2 separate regions of the Homo sapiens genome follow, and region 2 is linked to region 1. The links are contacts of gene promoters, found by promoter capture Hi-C in human tissues and cell types (Jung and others, 2019). All regions are on one chromosome and are shown on one strand. Each heading gives the region's core, a stretch centred on a gene start or on the middle of the fragment in contact. The rest is flanking DNA. Distances are from core to core; before and after follow the strand shown.

Evidence for each region. The method cuts DNA at HindIII sites, captures the fragments that hold promoters and counts their contacts. A contact is called where the count stands out against the background at its distance.
Region 2: a contact is called between a fragment that was not itself captured here and the fragment with the promoter of C5 in region 1, in 1 of the 25 tissues and cell types used here (H1 embryonic stem cells).

What each region holds. Positions count from the first base shown.
Region 1 is chr9:121,048,045-121,052,244 of GRCh38, reverse strand. C5 (complement C5) reads left to right here and starts at 1,970. Exons shown (of 41, transcript NM_001735.3): 1 at 1,970-2,063. The coding sequence starts at 1,999. The HindIII fragment of the contact is 13,591 bases long and covers 1-4,200 here.
Region 2 is chr9:120,728,598-120,732,797 of GRCh38, reverse strand. No RefSeq gene overlaps it. Among named protein-coding and RNA genes, the nearest start is that of MEGF9, 16 kb to the right of the region's middle. The HindIII fragment of the contact is 5,003 bases long and covers 1-4,200 here.

The sequences.
Region 1 (4,200 bases), core at 721-3,220:
CCTCAGGTGATCCACCCACCTCGGCCTCCCAAAGATCTGGGATTACAGGTGTGAGCCAGCGTGCCCAGCCTCAAAAGTTCATCTGTGAGCCACATTTAGAAGGTAGATAAAAAATTTTGACTAAACACAGCTTAGAATCTATAAATTGTTAAACTTCAGTTCTGTTGAGAATCTTTGAGATCCATCATTCTCTAAATGTTTTCTACCAGAGAAACAGGACAATGGCTTGCAAATATTGGTTATCAGTATTTACTCTATAGCTCAAGCAAACAAACTTATTTGCACTTAAAATACAAATATTACCTACCTTGATTTGAGTGTTGTTGTTCTCTCTTAAATTTCATTTCCCAAAAATGATGGCAAAAGTACTGTTTGTTTTAACTTGACCCATCTTTTGCAACCCAGCTTAATCATTTCACAGATTCCCTTTTGAAATAAATGGGCTAGATGATCAGACAATAGTGGCAAATGTTTGTCATTTCAATGACATATGCAAGAGATACCTTTAGTGAAATTTGTATATCAAATTTCCCTTTGTGCTCCTTTTTTCCCTAGTGAATTCAGCATTAAAGTGTTTATAAATATTTTTGGTTTATTATTTATTAATTCAAAGCAAAGAATGCCAATGTGACCATAAATATCTCATTTATATATCATAAATATCTCATTATAGAAATATGTTTAGAGACATCTGTTTTATTATTTTAAAGAAGAGTACATATTATATATTAAGGTAAAAATAGTACTAAAAAAGAGAAGGTAGTAAATAAAAAAATTCTAATGAACATAAAACATCATAAAAATTAACTTAATTAAAAATCAGCCAGGCACAGTGGCTCATGCCTGTAATCCCAGTACTTTGGGAGGCCAAGGTGGGTGGATCACCTGAGGTCAGGAGTTCGAGACCAGCCTGGCCAACACGGTGAAACCCTACCTCTACTAAAAATACAAAAAATTAGCTGGATGTGATGGGACATGCCTGTAGTCCCAGCTACTTGGGAGGCTGAGGCAGGAGAATGCCTTGAACCTGGGAGGCAGAGGTTGCCCTGAGCCAAGATAGTGCCACTAGACTCCAGCCTGGGCGACAGAAAGAGACTCTGTCTCCAAAAAAAAAAAAAAAAGTATAAAGATAAAATTTTAGTATATTGTGAATTAATTACTAGACTCAATTGTTATAGGAAGCTTTGTTTTTCTGGAGCTCTTATATTAAAATTATTAAAATCCTCACTGAAAAGTATAACATGTGTTTTCTTTAAAAGAAAGATATTCTATATCTGAATAAAGACAAACTTTGAACGAGTGGTATATGCCTTAATAAATATTGGAGAATATCTATTCTCCAATACTTAGAGAATGACGACAGCATCCTCCACATGGCGTTTTCATTGCCAGTCACAACTTTCCTCCACCTAGTGTTCTCTAGACTGAGACAGACCAAGGAACAATTCCCTAGACCTCCTTTGCAGAGCTAGGTTATGCTCAGACCATTTGCAGCACCAAGGACACTGCCATTCAGGTCACCAAAAAAAGATCATCTTGTGAGCCCTGTCTAAACCAGGCCCCTTCTAAAATCATTTCAGTGTGAAACTGAGTCCAGGTGGGTCTTCATCAGTATTAGAGTGGACCTGCCAGATGTATGCTTGCAGATGATGCAACATCAAAGCAAATGCCCTGGGCAAGAGAAGAAAGGCCAAAGCAATGGGCTTACTGGTTTCTAGCTTTGAGCCACTCTTCATAGTGCCAAATTCCCATTTTAGGGTCCCTTTATTTGTATTAATAAAAATAAATTCCCTGGGTGTAAGTTCCTGTAAAGTACTCCCTATCTGTATTCCTGGGCATGAAAGGGTGTTTTAGTTCCAATTCTAGTTTTCCCACTTAGAGGTTCACCTTTCTGACATTAATAATTAACCAGATTATCTGAATTCTTCAAGTTCAGTTTATTTAAAAGGAGACTATCCTCAAAAGTGTTATATCCGTGGTTTCCTGCTACCTCCAACCATGGGCCTTTTGGGAATACTTTGTTTTTTAATCTTCCTGGGGAAAACCTGGGGACAGGAGCAAACGTAAGTAAAACAAGCTATCTTCATTTTTCAATGCATCTTAGTTATGACGAATGAAGAGTTAAATTTAACAGATTCTGTTAACTTGAAAATAACTTGCTACTTCTGAGAACAGCAAGTGAATAGTATCATCTCTGAATGAGAAAGTCATGGAAGCATTTTGATTTGATGAGTAGCTAACAACATGACAGCTTTTATGGAATTGTTATTTATTAAAATTTACGTTAAGTGATTATTCAAATTCCTCTTCAAAAAAGCACAAAAGAAACTCCAGATAATAAACTTTCTTGACATTTTTTGCTTATTTTAACTTGGTGTTTAGTTTTCTTTGTGTTTTTCATAGACTATACACAGTTAAACCAGGGTTATTTAGGAGTCAATCTAATACTGTGATCTGAAAATCTGTTGTTGTAGTGACTTCTACCATACATTTATGAGCTGACTTTTCACAATTTTTAGTGTCATTATTGAGATAATATGCATTTTAAGTAATGTTTTAAAAATAATGATCTTATATCTAGAAATATTTTAATACTGAAAAGTAACTGCAGATCATCTAATCAAACCTATTCATTTTATATATGAGAATAAGTCCAGATAAGGGAAGTGACTGACCAAAGGTCACAGTTCTAGAGAGAGAGAAACAGGATTTTTATTAAGGTCTCCTGTTTATCACTTCAATTTTTTTCATTTTGTCATAAATGTATACATGTAAATATATTATATATAAACACATACTTAGGATGTCATTCTTTTTTAGCACCCTCGTATTTCTGATCTGTGATCTTTTTACATGGCCACAAGCACTCAACTACCTTAGCATCCTGCCTTTATTCTTTTTGAAAGACGAGCAGCTAAGGCTTAGAGAGACTGAAATTAAGTGACTTCAAATTGGTGGCAGAACTAGGGCTAGGACCTGGGTTCCATGATTCTTGTCCAGACTTATTCTGAATTCTTTCTACTAGCCCTTAATAAAAATTATTTCCTCACTTTCTCTGAAGAAGTCAGAGTGTACCATTTACAACATGGCAATCAATCACTTTAATTAATTGGTTGATTGATTGATTCAACAAATATTTATTGAGCATCTAAACATATGATAGGCACTGCAGATATAGCAAACGGTAAGACAATTCCTAGAGCTTGCATTCTAGTGGGAGAAGCAAGTAATGAATGAATGAACCAATGAAAGAATGTGTAAGGTCAGGTAGGTAGTATTATGAAGAAAAAAATAAAGCAGAGTATGAGAATTAAAAAATAATTATGGGGCACTATTTTAAAATGTGGCCAGGAAAGGTTCTCTTAAGGAGGCTGCACTCAAACAGAGCCTGAAGGAAGTGAGGAAGCAAACCATGCAAATATTTGAGGAAAGAGCATTCCAGATAGAGGCCAAAATAACATTCTTGCCTCTCTGCAAGCTCCTGCTCCTCTGCAGCAATTGAAAGACAAAGAAAACTATGAAATTATTTATATGGATAGATTATGCTACTGATAAGTCAATAAGAACCAAAATCTTTATAAAGGGTGGTTCCAGAATATTCTTTTAGGGGCTTCTAAACACTATGTATTTTTGCTTGACGGCTACCATCACATAGACCAGCAGTCCCCAACCATTTTGGCACTAGGGACAGGTTTTGTGGAAGACAATGTTTCCATGGACCAGGATTGGGGTGGGGATGGTTTCAGAATGAAACTGTTCCACTTCAGATCATCAGGCATTATATTCTCATAAGGAGCTTGCAATCTAGATCCCTCGCATGTGCGGTTCACAATAGAGTTCATGCTCCTAGGAGAATCTAATGCCACCACTGATCTGACAGGAGGCAGAGCTCAGGTGGTAATGCTCCTTTGCCCCACTGCTCACCTCCTGCTGTGTAGCCTGGTTCCTAACAAGCCATGGACTGGTATTTGTCCATGGCCCAGGGGTTGGGGACCCCTACCATACACAATTCAAAATTAAAGCAATACTAAACTTAAAAACATAAAGCTTCTATAAATACTGAAATTAAAGTAGCTTTATATCCCTAAATTTTTCTAATTACAAAACTCTTTATAAATTCCATTTAGTACAACAGTTGAAAATGTTAATTCTGGAAACGGGCTGCTCAGGTTCGATTTCTAATTCTATAATTTGTGAATT
Region 2 (4,200 bases), core at 1,080-3,579, 320 kb after region 1:
GGAGCCACTGCACCCAGCCAGGACTTTGACTCTTGATAAAATACAGGACTCCTGGGAGAGGGTACAGTACCATTTATATCCCAGAGTGAACTATTTTACCAAAGCTGACTCTGAGAACAGGCCTGGTTGGGGAAGGAGGTGAAGAGACCCCATGAAGATCCTGAAAGCAAGGCCGGGTGCGGTGGCTCACGCCTGTAATCCCAGCACTTTGGGTGGCCAAGGTAGGCAGATCACTTGAGGTCAGGAGTTCAAGACCAGCCTGGCCAACATGGTGAAACCCCATCTCTACTAAAAATACAAAAATTAGCCAGGTGTGGTGGCACAAGACTGTAGTCCCAGCTACTCAAGAGGCTGAGGCAGGAGGATCACTTGAACCCAGGAGGCGAAGGCTGCAGTGATCCGAGATCACACCACTGCGTACTCTAGCCTGGGACGCCATGAGAGTTTTTATTAAAAAAGGAAAGAAGAGAGAGAAGAGAAGAGAAGATCAGTTCCTGAAAGCAAGAAAAGGAGGCCCGTGAAGGAGGTGAAGCTCATGGTCTAGCCTTCTATAGTTCACAAAAACTCTTAAGATGTAGGCTTCCTTCTCTAGTTGCCTCTGCCCCAGGGGGCTCCTTGAGAAGAACACTGTGCTTTGGGGGAGCAGCAGACAAGCCCCCCTGAGGTCATCTGGCTTAGAAACAAACCTGGGATGGGTGTTTCCTGTTGGATTGGAGAACTGACTGAGCTGCAGTTACAGTGGAGTTGCCCCAGTGGGCATCTGGCCTTCACAGTTAGCACCATGATGATGCTGTGATTTCTGCTTTGCTGTGGCTCTGTTTCTCTGGAAGCGGAATCATCACCATGATTTAACCTTTAGCCCAGCTCAGCGCACTAGACTGTGGCTCAGACCAAAACTTCCTTTCAGATTTTCTCTCTCTCATTTGCTATATTCTACCCATTCCAGCTTTTTTCTCCCTCTCAAACACATACGAAGCTTGTGTCTGTCTATGAGACTTTGCATTTACCATTCTGTCTCCCTGGTCTTCCCCAGCCTGCCTCCTCGTTCTCATTCAGGCCTCAGCTCAATGTGTACCTTCTCCCAGATGGCTTCCTTGACCATGCTTGTGAAAGTGACATGCCACCCCGGAGTCATTTTCTATCCCATTATTAGTCTGTGTTTTCTTCTTAGCACTGTCATTTTCTGAAATTATCTGATTTATTTAGGTACCCATATACTCTCTGGCTCCCTAACCAGAACATAAACTCCATGAGAACAGCAACAGAGCCTTTCTGTTCTCTGCTAAGAGCTGAGAATAGTGCTGGCACATACAGGGGATCCATCCAAGGATCACAGGCAGAGCCGTCCTTGCTTTTCCTCATTTGGCTTTAGAGTTTTTCTCCTAAGTGGTATACAGATATTGGCTTGGCAGGGAACAGAGCCAGGCAGCCAGTCCTGCATGCAGACCAGGGTTCCCGCCTAATTTAGCAGCTTCACAAGGGGTGTGGCCTGGGCTCCAGGGATCTGAGCTGGACCCAGTAGACAGAAGTTCACAGAGATGGGCTTTAGTGTAATAGCAAAAGGACTTGAGAACAGAGCTGACAGGAGACAGAATGGGAACGCCGATGCTTAACTGCACCAGTTCCATGCCCATCCATCCCCCTGTGGTCCACTCGCCACCCTCTGCTTCTGTGCAGCCTGCCCACACACCTGCAAGCTCACTGAGCTCATTGGTCACTGGAACTGCTTCCCAGCACAGAGGGTGGGGATTCGGCATCACTGGGGGAACTAAATTGGATGGTCTCTGTGGGCCATTTCATCTCCTATTTCAGGGGCTTGGCTGAGAGCAGTTTATTTCTAATCCTGAGGACTGCAGGGCCTCCAGGGAGGAGAGGGTGACAGACTGGGTTAAGCTGTTAATGGTGCTCTGGGGTTAAAGCTCAATGACCCACAGTGCCAGTGCACTGATTAGTGACCACATCCGCCCACCTGCTGTTTGCTTAGCAGGGAGAGCTGCTCTTCTGAATCAGGAATGCAGCACCAAGAAGAAATATGCATTCCAGGCCTGGTTCTGCTGCCAAGTTATCATGTGAGCTTGAATGAGTCCTTTCCTGCTCTGAGCCTTGGTGTGTCTTCCTGGAAGAATGTTTGGATTAGACCTAGATGCTTTTTTTTTTTTTTTTTTTAGATGGAGTTTCGCTCTTGTTGCCCAGGCTGGAGTGCAATGGCACGATCTTGGCTCACTGCAACCTCTGCCTCCTGGGTTCAAGCGATTCTGCTGCCTCAGCCTTCCAAGTAGCTGGGATTACAGGCATGTGCCACCACGCCCAGCTAATTTTGTATTTTTAGTAGAGATGGGGTTTCTCCATGTTGGTCAGGCTGGTCTCGAACTCCTGACCTCAGGTGATCTGCCCGCCTTGGCCTCCCAATGTGCTGGGATTACAGGCGTGAGCCACCATGCGTGGCCTGACCTAGGTGCTTTTTAAGGCCATCTCTTCTAACTCTAACGTTCTAGGATTAACTGGTGAACCTCACACATGAAAAAAGTTCCATCCATGGCAAGAGCTCATGCCCAGGCTCCAATTCTTCAGCAGATCCTCTTTCTTAGCTGACAGCCTGGAATGGAACCAAGACCCCTGACCTCTGTCATCGGCAGCTCAAGTCTTCTCGGAGAGTCTGTGTTTATTCACAGCTCTGGCTGGGCAGCTGAAAAAAGTATGTGATCTGTCAGTGGACAGATCCTGAGCTGTCCATCAGGAGGGAGATGAGCTAAGTCTAGAAGCCACCTGGGGGCTGTCCCACCAGCGCCCCCAACAGGTCTACTCATCCAAAGGGCAGGAAAGGGACTTTGTGCCTCTGCCTTTGATGGTGTAAGGACTCCTTGGGCAACATTTATGCCAAGACCTCGCTGTATTTGGCAGCCTTAGGGAAGCCTCCCTGTGGTCTTAAACCTGGAGCAGGAAGGAAGTGTAATGACAAGAAGCCTTTTCGTGAGGCCCATGACTATTTCATGATGTGATAGTTTCACTGCTGATAGTTTCACTGCACTTTCCTGAAACTCAACTCATCTTTGGCACAGCCATGTAGGAAGATCAGGGAAGCCTGACACTGCATTCTGGGGCCATTCTTTGTCCTGAGCCAGCAATTTCTTTTTCATTCTGTAGGGTTCTTGTAGGAATGAAAGATTCAGAAAGCCCAATAGTTGAGTAAACATTTCTCAAGCATCTTCTCTGAGCTAACCCCAACTTGGGAACTGGGGATTAAAAATGAATTTATTAACTTTTTAATGTTCTGTGCAACATATACACCTACACAGACACAGGGCATAGATTCTCTATTCATAGATGAATAGGCTTTTCACAAAGCATAAATCTTTTAGATCACTGCTAAATGGACTGATACACTGGCTTTAAGGGAATATACTTCTCATGTTTGAAAAAAATATTTTTAAAAAGTCAGACATAGTCCCTGCTCTCAAGCAGTTTGGGTAAAATCCTTTCATCCCTTTGAGCTTCAGTTCTGCAAAATGGGACTGTTGATCCCATCAAGGGCTGCTAGATTTAATGGATCAAATCACAAGATGCCTAGTTAAATTTGAATTTTAAATTTAACTGGACATCTTGCATTTTATCTGGTAATCCTAGCCCTGCCCAAACTAGGACTTTTATAAGGTACAGAAGGAATAATATGTGAATTAATAATGTACAACAGTGCTTTACAGTTTACGGAGTTCTGTGTCAGCGAGAAGGGTTTGGATTGAATGACTTTGATGTAAGGGGATCTCTTGCAGGCTTATGATTGTATTCTCATGATGAAGATCCTGAGACATGAGGAGAAAGACTCAATGCTGCATCCCTTGAGAACACTTTTAATTCCAGGACAGTGAATACAAAACCCTCAATGGCAAAAGATGGAGCCTGGAGCAGCGCATGTGAGAAAGCCCTGGGGTTTTTGGCTCACAGAAAAATCAAAACGGGACCCCTTAGGATGTAAACTCCATCTGCGTCTTCTGGCCACATCCTGGAAAGGATGGTATCCAGAATGCTGTCATTACTCAGACTCCCACTGGAACATTAAAAGGGACAGGAATGGGCCTGGTTCAAGGAGCTTGAAACCAGTGAGTGTCCTGGCAGGGACAGGAGTGATGAGAAGCGTCTGAACTGGAGATCTGTGGACTCAGGGGACATAAGCCATGGGCTTCCCATCCAGCATGGGTCCTG